2 separate regions of the Homo sapiens genome follow, and region 1 is linked to region 2. The links are contacts of gene promoters, found by promoter capture Hi-C in human tissues and cell types (Jung and others, 2019). All regions are on one chromosome and are shown on one strand. The core of a region is centred on a gene start or on the middle of the fragment in contact, and the rest is flanking DNA. Distances in the headings are between cores, read along the strand shown. Region 1 has its middle 49 kb from the start of BTC. Region 2 holds the start of BTC (betacellulin).

Region 1 (3,612 bases), core at 123-2,622, 49 kb before region 2:
GAAGAAGTTTATCCTTAGTCTGGATGAGGGTGGATAGATGGCATCTTATTGGCATCTCCATAGTCAATAAGAGGGTGTTTCAGGGAGAGGAAGCCATAGGAATGAAAGGGTGTGCAGTTAGGACTATGAGGAGACCAGAGAGCCTAGAGCTGTAAGGTGCATTCCATAGAAAAGGGAGGGGGGAAACTTTGGATTGGTTTGGATGGCCAAATAATAAAAGGCTCTATGGGGGCTGGGCGTGGTGGCTCATGCATGTAATCCCAGCACTTTGGGAGGCTGAGAGAGTGGGTTGCTTGAGTCCAGGAGTTCAAGATCAGCTTGGGCAACATGGTGAAATCCTGTCTCTACAAAATAAAAAAAATACAAAAATTAGCTGGATGTAGTGGTGTGCCCCTGCAGTCCCAGCTACTCAGGAGGCTGAGGTGGAAGGATCACTTGAGCCCAGGACGTGGAAGTTGCAGTGAGTTGAGATCGCATTACTGCACCCCAGCCTGGGCAAGAGAGCAGGACTGTCTCAAAAAGTAAAATAAAATAAAGTAAAATAAAATGAAATAAAAGTAAATAAAAGGCTCTATGGCAGCAGTCCCCAACCTTTTTGGCACCAGGGACTGGTTTCATGGAAGACAATTTTCCCACGGACCAGGAGTGGGGGTGGGGGTGAAGGGTGAGGACGGTTTCAGGATGTTTCAAGCACATTACGTTTATTGTGCACGTTATTTCTTTTATTGTTACCTTGTAATATACAATGAGATAATTATACAACTCACCATAAGAATCAGTGGGAATCATGAGCTTGTTTTCCTGCAAGTAGATGGTCCCATCTGGGGGTGATGGGGGACAGTGACAGATCATCAGGCATTAGATTCTCATAATGAGTGCACAACCTAGACCCTTCCCACGCGCTGTTCACAATAGGGTTTGCCTTACGATGAGAATCTGATGCCACTGCTGATCTGACAGGAGGCGGAGCTCAGGCAGTAATAAGAGCAATGGAGAGTGGCTATAAATACAAATGAAGCTTTGCTCGCTTGCCTGCCACTCAATTCCTGCTGTGCTGGCCTGGTTCTTAATAGGCCATAGACCGGTACTGGCCCCGGGGTTGGGGAACCCTGCTCTATGGGCCACAGAGGAATTGATGCTCAATGTAATGTAGAGTTGAACGAACATTTTCTTTGAGCAGCCAAAGTGCTTGTGTAGACGTTGAGGGGGGAATGAATCAGGCATGTTTAATGTCCTAATAAGTTCAAACTCTAGTGAGGTAGAAAGATCCACAAGTAGCTGAGGAAAATTCAGTGCCATGTAAGCACTGTAAGAGGGCCAAGGTACCATGGTAGGGATTCACATAAGGTGCCTCTCTGAGTCTGGCAGTTCAGAAAATGTAACCTGAGGTTGGAGGTAGGGCTTGTACTAAGCTTTGAATGATGTTGTGATGGGAGGTTGAGAAGAAGGTATTCCTAGTGGAGGGGGCAACGTGAGTAAAGGCAGGGAAACATGAAGAAGTTTAGAGACCCATTAGATGTGCAGTCTCACTGCTGAGTATTGGAAGGGGAGGGGCAGGAGTTGGAACTCCAGAGGATATGGGGGTCAAATCAAGGAGAGCCAGCTATCATATTTAGGGGAAAAATGGAAAGCCCTAGAAGGGTTTTCGGAAAAAGAACGACATGGTCAGGTGGAAGATTAGTCTATGCAGATCCTGGGGAATGGATTTCAGCTGAGATTGATCTGGGGAAATTGTAATTATCTAGATGACAGCCTAAACAAGGCCAGAAGTAACACCAACAGGACTCACCAATGTATTAAACATGAGGAGCAGTATTATAACAGTCTGGCAGGGACCTGGGTCCAAACTCTGGCTCTGCCATTTATGCCCTGTGTCTATGTAACCTTAGACAAGTAGCTTTACCCTCGCTCCATATGCCTCAGTGGGTCATAGATTTCTTGTTCACGTTCCTGATTTTTTTTTCAAGCTTCTATTTGCCTTCCTTATACTGTTGGTACAATTTTCCTTATTGTCCCATATTCACCCTCAATCCTGAGCACCCCTCACATCTCTCCTTTCTTTAAACCCAGGCTCACTGACATACTGTTAAAGCAACAGGAGTTTCCTACTAAGCCTTCCCTTTCTTCATATGGATTCTTTGCAATCAAATGCTTAGAACTTCATTTCTTAGAGTTTATTTTCTAATGTTACCATTTCAAATATCTGGCTTCTGTAAACATCTTTGACTGTTGTCTGCACATGCACCCACTCTCTGAGAGATTCATAGAATTCGGGACACTCAGTGCCACATCCTGGACACCAGGAACATATACACTTTTTCTGCACCACCTGTGAGATGACCAGGGCAGGTTGGCATGGTGTTGGGTAGGAATGAGGACTCTAAGAGTAGTGAGCAAGAAATGTAACTTCAGGGAACACCCAGAGTGAGCTCATAATAAGGCACAGTCATACACATATGTGTGTGCTACAGAGTGTGTGCATGCATGTTCCCCCAGATATGTGCATGACCACATGCGTAAGTGTGGGTTTATGTAAAAGGATGTCTTGCCTTCTGTGATGGTTAATACTGAGTGTCAACCTGATTAGATTGAAGGATGCAAAGTATTGATCCTGGGTGTGTCTGTGAGGGAATTGCCAAAGGAGATTAATGTTTGAATCAGTGGGCTGGGAAAGGCAGACCACCCTTAATCTGGGTGGGCACAATCTAATCAGCTGTCAGCATGGCTAGGGTAAAAGCAGGCCGAAGAACGTGAAAAGCCTAGACTGGCTTAGTCTCCCAGCCTACATCTTTCTCCCATGCTGGATGCTTCCTGCCCTCAAACATCAGACTTCAAGTTCTTCAGCTTTGGGGCTTGGGCTTGCTTCCTTGATCCTCAGCTTGCAGACAGCCTATTGTGGGAACTTGTGATCATGTGAGTTTAATACTCCTTAATAAACTCCCCTTAATATATCTATCTATCTTATTAGTTCTGTCCCTCTAGAGAACCCTGACTAATACACCTGCCGATCCAGGATTTGGCAATTAGGTTAAATCTCTACATTGGCCCACATACCCTCAAATGTTATCATGTGTCCATGATGTGAATGGTGCTCCCGTGGTTGTGGCATACCTGAACATAACACCTGAACAGTGCACAATCTGAACATATGTACTGGAAGGAGAGTGGATTTTTAACATATCCAAGTAGGGGATCCTAACAAAGTAGGCTTTGGGGTATATTAGGTCTGATACTTAGCGTACAACTACTAGTTCCTGAGAAATAAAAATTATTCTAATATCCATCTTTTCAGTGATGACAGATCATGTGACAGATTAGACCTGGAAGCCCATGAGAAGTGTACGTGGACTCTTTTTCTCCACTTGGATATCTTTATAGTGTACATTTTCTCAATCGTGTTCAGACATTTTCAGAACTTGACAATCCCAGAGGCATTTACCCAGGTAGGTGAGTAATAGCCTGCATTTCTTAATTTAAGGCACAGTGATCAGAAAAGGCCTATGACCCCTAACAAAAAGTGTGGTCAGTGACCCGGAATCATGAAGCTTTGTCCAATCTCCTTGGTTGAGATAATTCAGTCCGAGATAATTCATTGCTTAGTGCATTTCCCTC
Region 2 (4,005 bases), core at 528-3,027:
TATTCTAGTGGCCTGAAAAAGTTAATTTACCACTTGAATGGCATAAATGATGAATACTTACACCAAGTCCTGGAATTTTCCAATGCTCAACAAACATTTAGTACTTTTTGTTTAGGTCTCGCTTTTTTTTTTTTTTATTAGTATCTACGAAAAAGGAAAACAAAATTGTAGCATTCTGTTGGGGCTAACAGGACAGCTGTTGGCTAGGCTAAATGCCATCTTGGAGTAAGAGATACTTTAACTTAGGGCACTGGTGCTGAGAGATGGAGAGAATATCAGAAAAGAAAAATGCAGGGTGGAAGTGTTGAGAGGGAGGGAGATGATGTCAAAATCCATTGGCTTCCAGTGTTTCTGCTCTTTTTAGCTGGGGTGCAGTAACCTTCCATCTTACAACTTTGGGTTTCTTTAAACTTCATGCCTGCCCTCTCTACCAATGTTTTATGAGCTGTCATGTGGGACTAGAATGGGATTCTGAAAATTAAGAGCTGATTTTTATTCCACCGGATATATCAGTTGCCTGGGGCAGTAAAATAATTTAGTTTTGAAATGAAATGTTATTCGTGGGAGACAAGTGCACAACAATTTACTTAACTTAAACAGTAGGATGAGGAGGAAGAGGCAGACACCCAAACTACATTTCATATGTAAAATAAGGCTTACATGACTTTTGGATGCTATAGAAATAAAATTTCTGTACTGAGGGGCATAATTATCCACATAAATCTTATATGAGGAACACAGACCAGTACAAAAGCAGCTGTATCTTTTGGTTATCTTGGAGGCAATATATAACCACATAAGGTAAAATTGGATGCTGCTTGCTTTCTCTAAAAGCTGTGAGGATGTCTTTCTGTTCCAGAAATTGCTTAATGCAAGTAAATGAAAATATACTGAATACATGAGTAAATTCATAAACAGAAATACAAATGAAATTTCTAAAGTAGGTCCTGGTGAGCCCCAATTTTATGAATTATTAGAAGACAATGCACCCAGAAACTAAGACACTAGCTTGAAGACTTTTTTCATTTCTTTTCTTTTTTTTTTTTTTTTTTTTTGTTGCTGATGTTGTTGTTGTTGTTGTCGTTGTTTTGAAACAGTGTCTCACTCTTGCGCCTTGGCTGGAGTGAAGTGGCTCGATCTAGGCTCATTGAAGGCTCCATCTCCCAAGCTTAAGCGATCCTCCCCACCTCAGCCTCAGGGAATGGATGGGACTGCAGGTGCACACCACCATACCCGGCTATTAATTTACTTTTGTATTTTTTGTAGAGACGAGGTTTCGCTATGGCTTCAAGACTTTAAAAGGCAACAATGACTCTTTTGAAATTGCCTGCATTATCAAATGCCTGAAGTCAACCACAATGAATGGTGAGTCTGGTTTCTCCATGACACTAGCAATCCTCTGAAATAAAGGAAGTTAGAATTCCAGAACACGTTTGGGTCTCTGACTCTTCCTCGGTGGCTTCCAGGAGTTTAGGTCAGCCTGCAGGCCCGACCGGAACCCCCGACACCCCTCCACGCGGATTCTTTACATCTCCCTCCCTACCTTGTTTACGCCCTAGGGGGTAGGGAAATGAACAGTCAGTCAGGTGAGACCCAGCAGGGGGAGTGGTGAGCTGGTCCGAGGGCAGCCCGAATATGTCCCTGGGTGTGGGTATGGGTGTGGGGCAATTTGGGTGGGAGCAGCGTGGAGGCTCCCAGGACCAAGTCCTGCGCCTCTTTGGCGGGGTGTGTGCAGGAGGAGGGGGGATAAATAGGAGGCTCCCTCCTCCCGGCGACATTCACGGAGCCGGCCGGCCTCCCGCCCTGGGTGTTTCCCTGCCTTGTAGCCAGGGTGCCAGCCTGGGAAGTAGTTTCGTTTCCTTCTGCCTCCGGGATTAGTTTCCAGGCACCCTCTCAGGCGCCCGAGGCCCGGGAAGGGGGCGAAGAAGGAGGGAGACTTGTCTAGGGGCTGCCCGGCCCGGCAGAGCGGGGTTGATGGACCGGGCCGCCCGGTGCAGCGGCGCCAGCTCCCTGCCACTGCTCCTGGCCCTTGCCCTGGGTAAGTGGCCGTGCTGGGCACTGGAAACCAGGAGGAAAGTCTGGGGCTGGAGTCGCGGGGAGGGCGAACCCTGAACCGAGCTGGCATCTGGACAAGAGGGCGCGCTGGGGCTGGCAGGCGCGGGTTGGAGAACTTTGAAGGCTGGGAGAGCGCGAGGTTAAAGATCTGGCAATTGGGCACCTGGGGCTGCACCTGCTGGAGGCAGTCCCTAGACGCGTGAGAAGGCCCGAGGGCGGAAGCGATTCCGAGGTCCTCGCTGCCAGTGCTGCGAGCAGGCCGCCAGCTGCTGACTTGTGCGCACAGCAGAGGGCCTGGCGGCGCCGGCGGGCTGTCCACCGGGGTGAGGCGCTGTGCTCGCAAGTGAGGGTCGGGGGGTGGGGGCAGGGGCGAGCAGGGAAACCCACTAAAGAAGCTCACGTGGTAGTATAGACCAAGAAGCATATCCTGCAGGAGGCAGAAGAACGGGAACTCTTTGACTGAAGGTGTGATCACCTGGCGTTAGGGAAGAGTGCCAGCGGGAGGAGGAGTAGCAGGATGCCTAGAGCCCTCCAGAGGGTCTCTCCTGCCTCCTTAGGAGTCAGAACTCACAAAGCAGAGCTGGAACTTCAGATGTGGCTGGAAGCAGGCTTCCCCTTCCCCTCCACCGAGGGAAGGTAGTGAGAAGGCTTCTAAGTAGGAAAAAATCCCAACTCTTCAAAGCTTGCTCTCTGCATCATGGTCATTTTGCGGGGCAGAGAAGGGAAGGGAAACCAGTAACATTTTCTAATCTTAGCTGGGCTGTAGACACATCTGGGTTTGGAGCATTTATGTGGTAGGAGGAGAGTCTCCACAGCTGAAGTGTCACCACGATATCACTCCTACCTTCAAGCCTGGGAAGGGGACACCACAAATGAAAAAGAATGGGAATTCCTCTTATTGAGGAAAGAGAGGGGGAGCCTAAATGAAAACTTTCATTTGACTGTGTCCTTGGAGTAAGAGAGGTGGCTAAAAAGGTACAGTGAACTTGCTTGGAGGTGGATCAGACTTAGGACCAAGGTTAGAGAAAATAAACTTATTTAACAAACGCTGAAGAGGAAGGAGTCAGTAACAATTTAGTGGTAGAGTGAATGTGTACATTCATGAAGAAGAGCAATGGGGTTGAGACTTAACCCTAGAAATAGTACTGATGCTTTTGCCAGCATTGCTTGCAAGTAGCTGACATTCTCTTCCTCCACCGTGTCTAAACTATCCAACAGTCAAAGTATTCCCTGAGAATCTGTCGTAGTCAGCAAGGTGCTGAGGTATGTAGCAATGGAGGTGGGGAAAGGGCTCATGAGATTCCTAAAATAAAACATGATTCCTGCCCTAGAACTTGCACTGAATTTGGATATGCAAGCCCAGCAGGGTAACCTGTGGAAAAATTCACGGAATCAGAAAAGGGAGAAAGAGCTCAACAGCGGGGGCTGGAATAGTGGGGAAAGGCTGAATGGAGGACACGAATGCGTGCCTTGAGGCTTGGGTAGAGTTTGCAATAGTAGAGAGGAAAGAGGGAACAGAGACAAGGGAAAAAGCATTTAGTAAAGGGTTGGCGATGCGAATGAGCATGCTTTACTGGAAAGAGTAGAATTTCTGAGAGGCAGACAGATTATGAAGAACTGAAAAAGCCAGATTAGAATATTTGGAACAGAATCAATAAGCTATTAAACACACACCATCACAGGGCTTGACTGGGAGTGATATGATGCAAACAATGGTTTAAAGGTGATAAATCTGTCAGTGAGGTGCAGTATAGGAAGGGGGGGCGCCTGTGGGCCAGAGGACCTGATTGTCTCGTAGGTATAATCTGGGCATGAGCTACTTGGGGCCTAAATTAGGGTGATGTTTTAGCAGAGGTGTCATAGTAGAAATGACTATTGAAAGTCGATGGACATTCTTTCCCCTTTACTATCACAAAACTTGTCAAAAGACAGAAATGAAAATCAAAAAGC

What was found. The method cuts DNA at HindIII sites, captures the fragments that hold promoters and counts their contacts. A contact is called where the count stands out against the background at its distance.
Region 1: a fragment that was not itself captured here is called in contact with the fragment with the promoter of BTC in region 2 in 2 of the 25 tissues and cell types used here (H1 embryonic stem cells and pancreas).

Annotation. Positions count from the first base shown.
Region 1 is chr4:74,841,378-74,844,989 of GRCh38, reverse strand. No RefSeq gene overlaps it. Among named protein-coding and RNA genes, the nearest start is that of BTC, 49 kb to the right of the region's middle. The HindIII fragment of the contact is 4,890 bases long and covers 1-3,612 here.
Region 2 is chr4:74,792,295-74,796,299 of GRCh38, reverse strand. It overlaps BTC (betacellulin), which reads left to right and starts at 1,777. Exons shown (of 6, transcript NM_001729.4): 1 at 1,777-2,038. The coding sequence starts at 1,975. The HindIII fragment of the contact is 8,112 bases long and covers 1-4,005 here.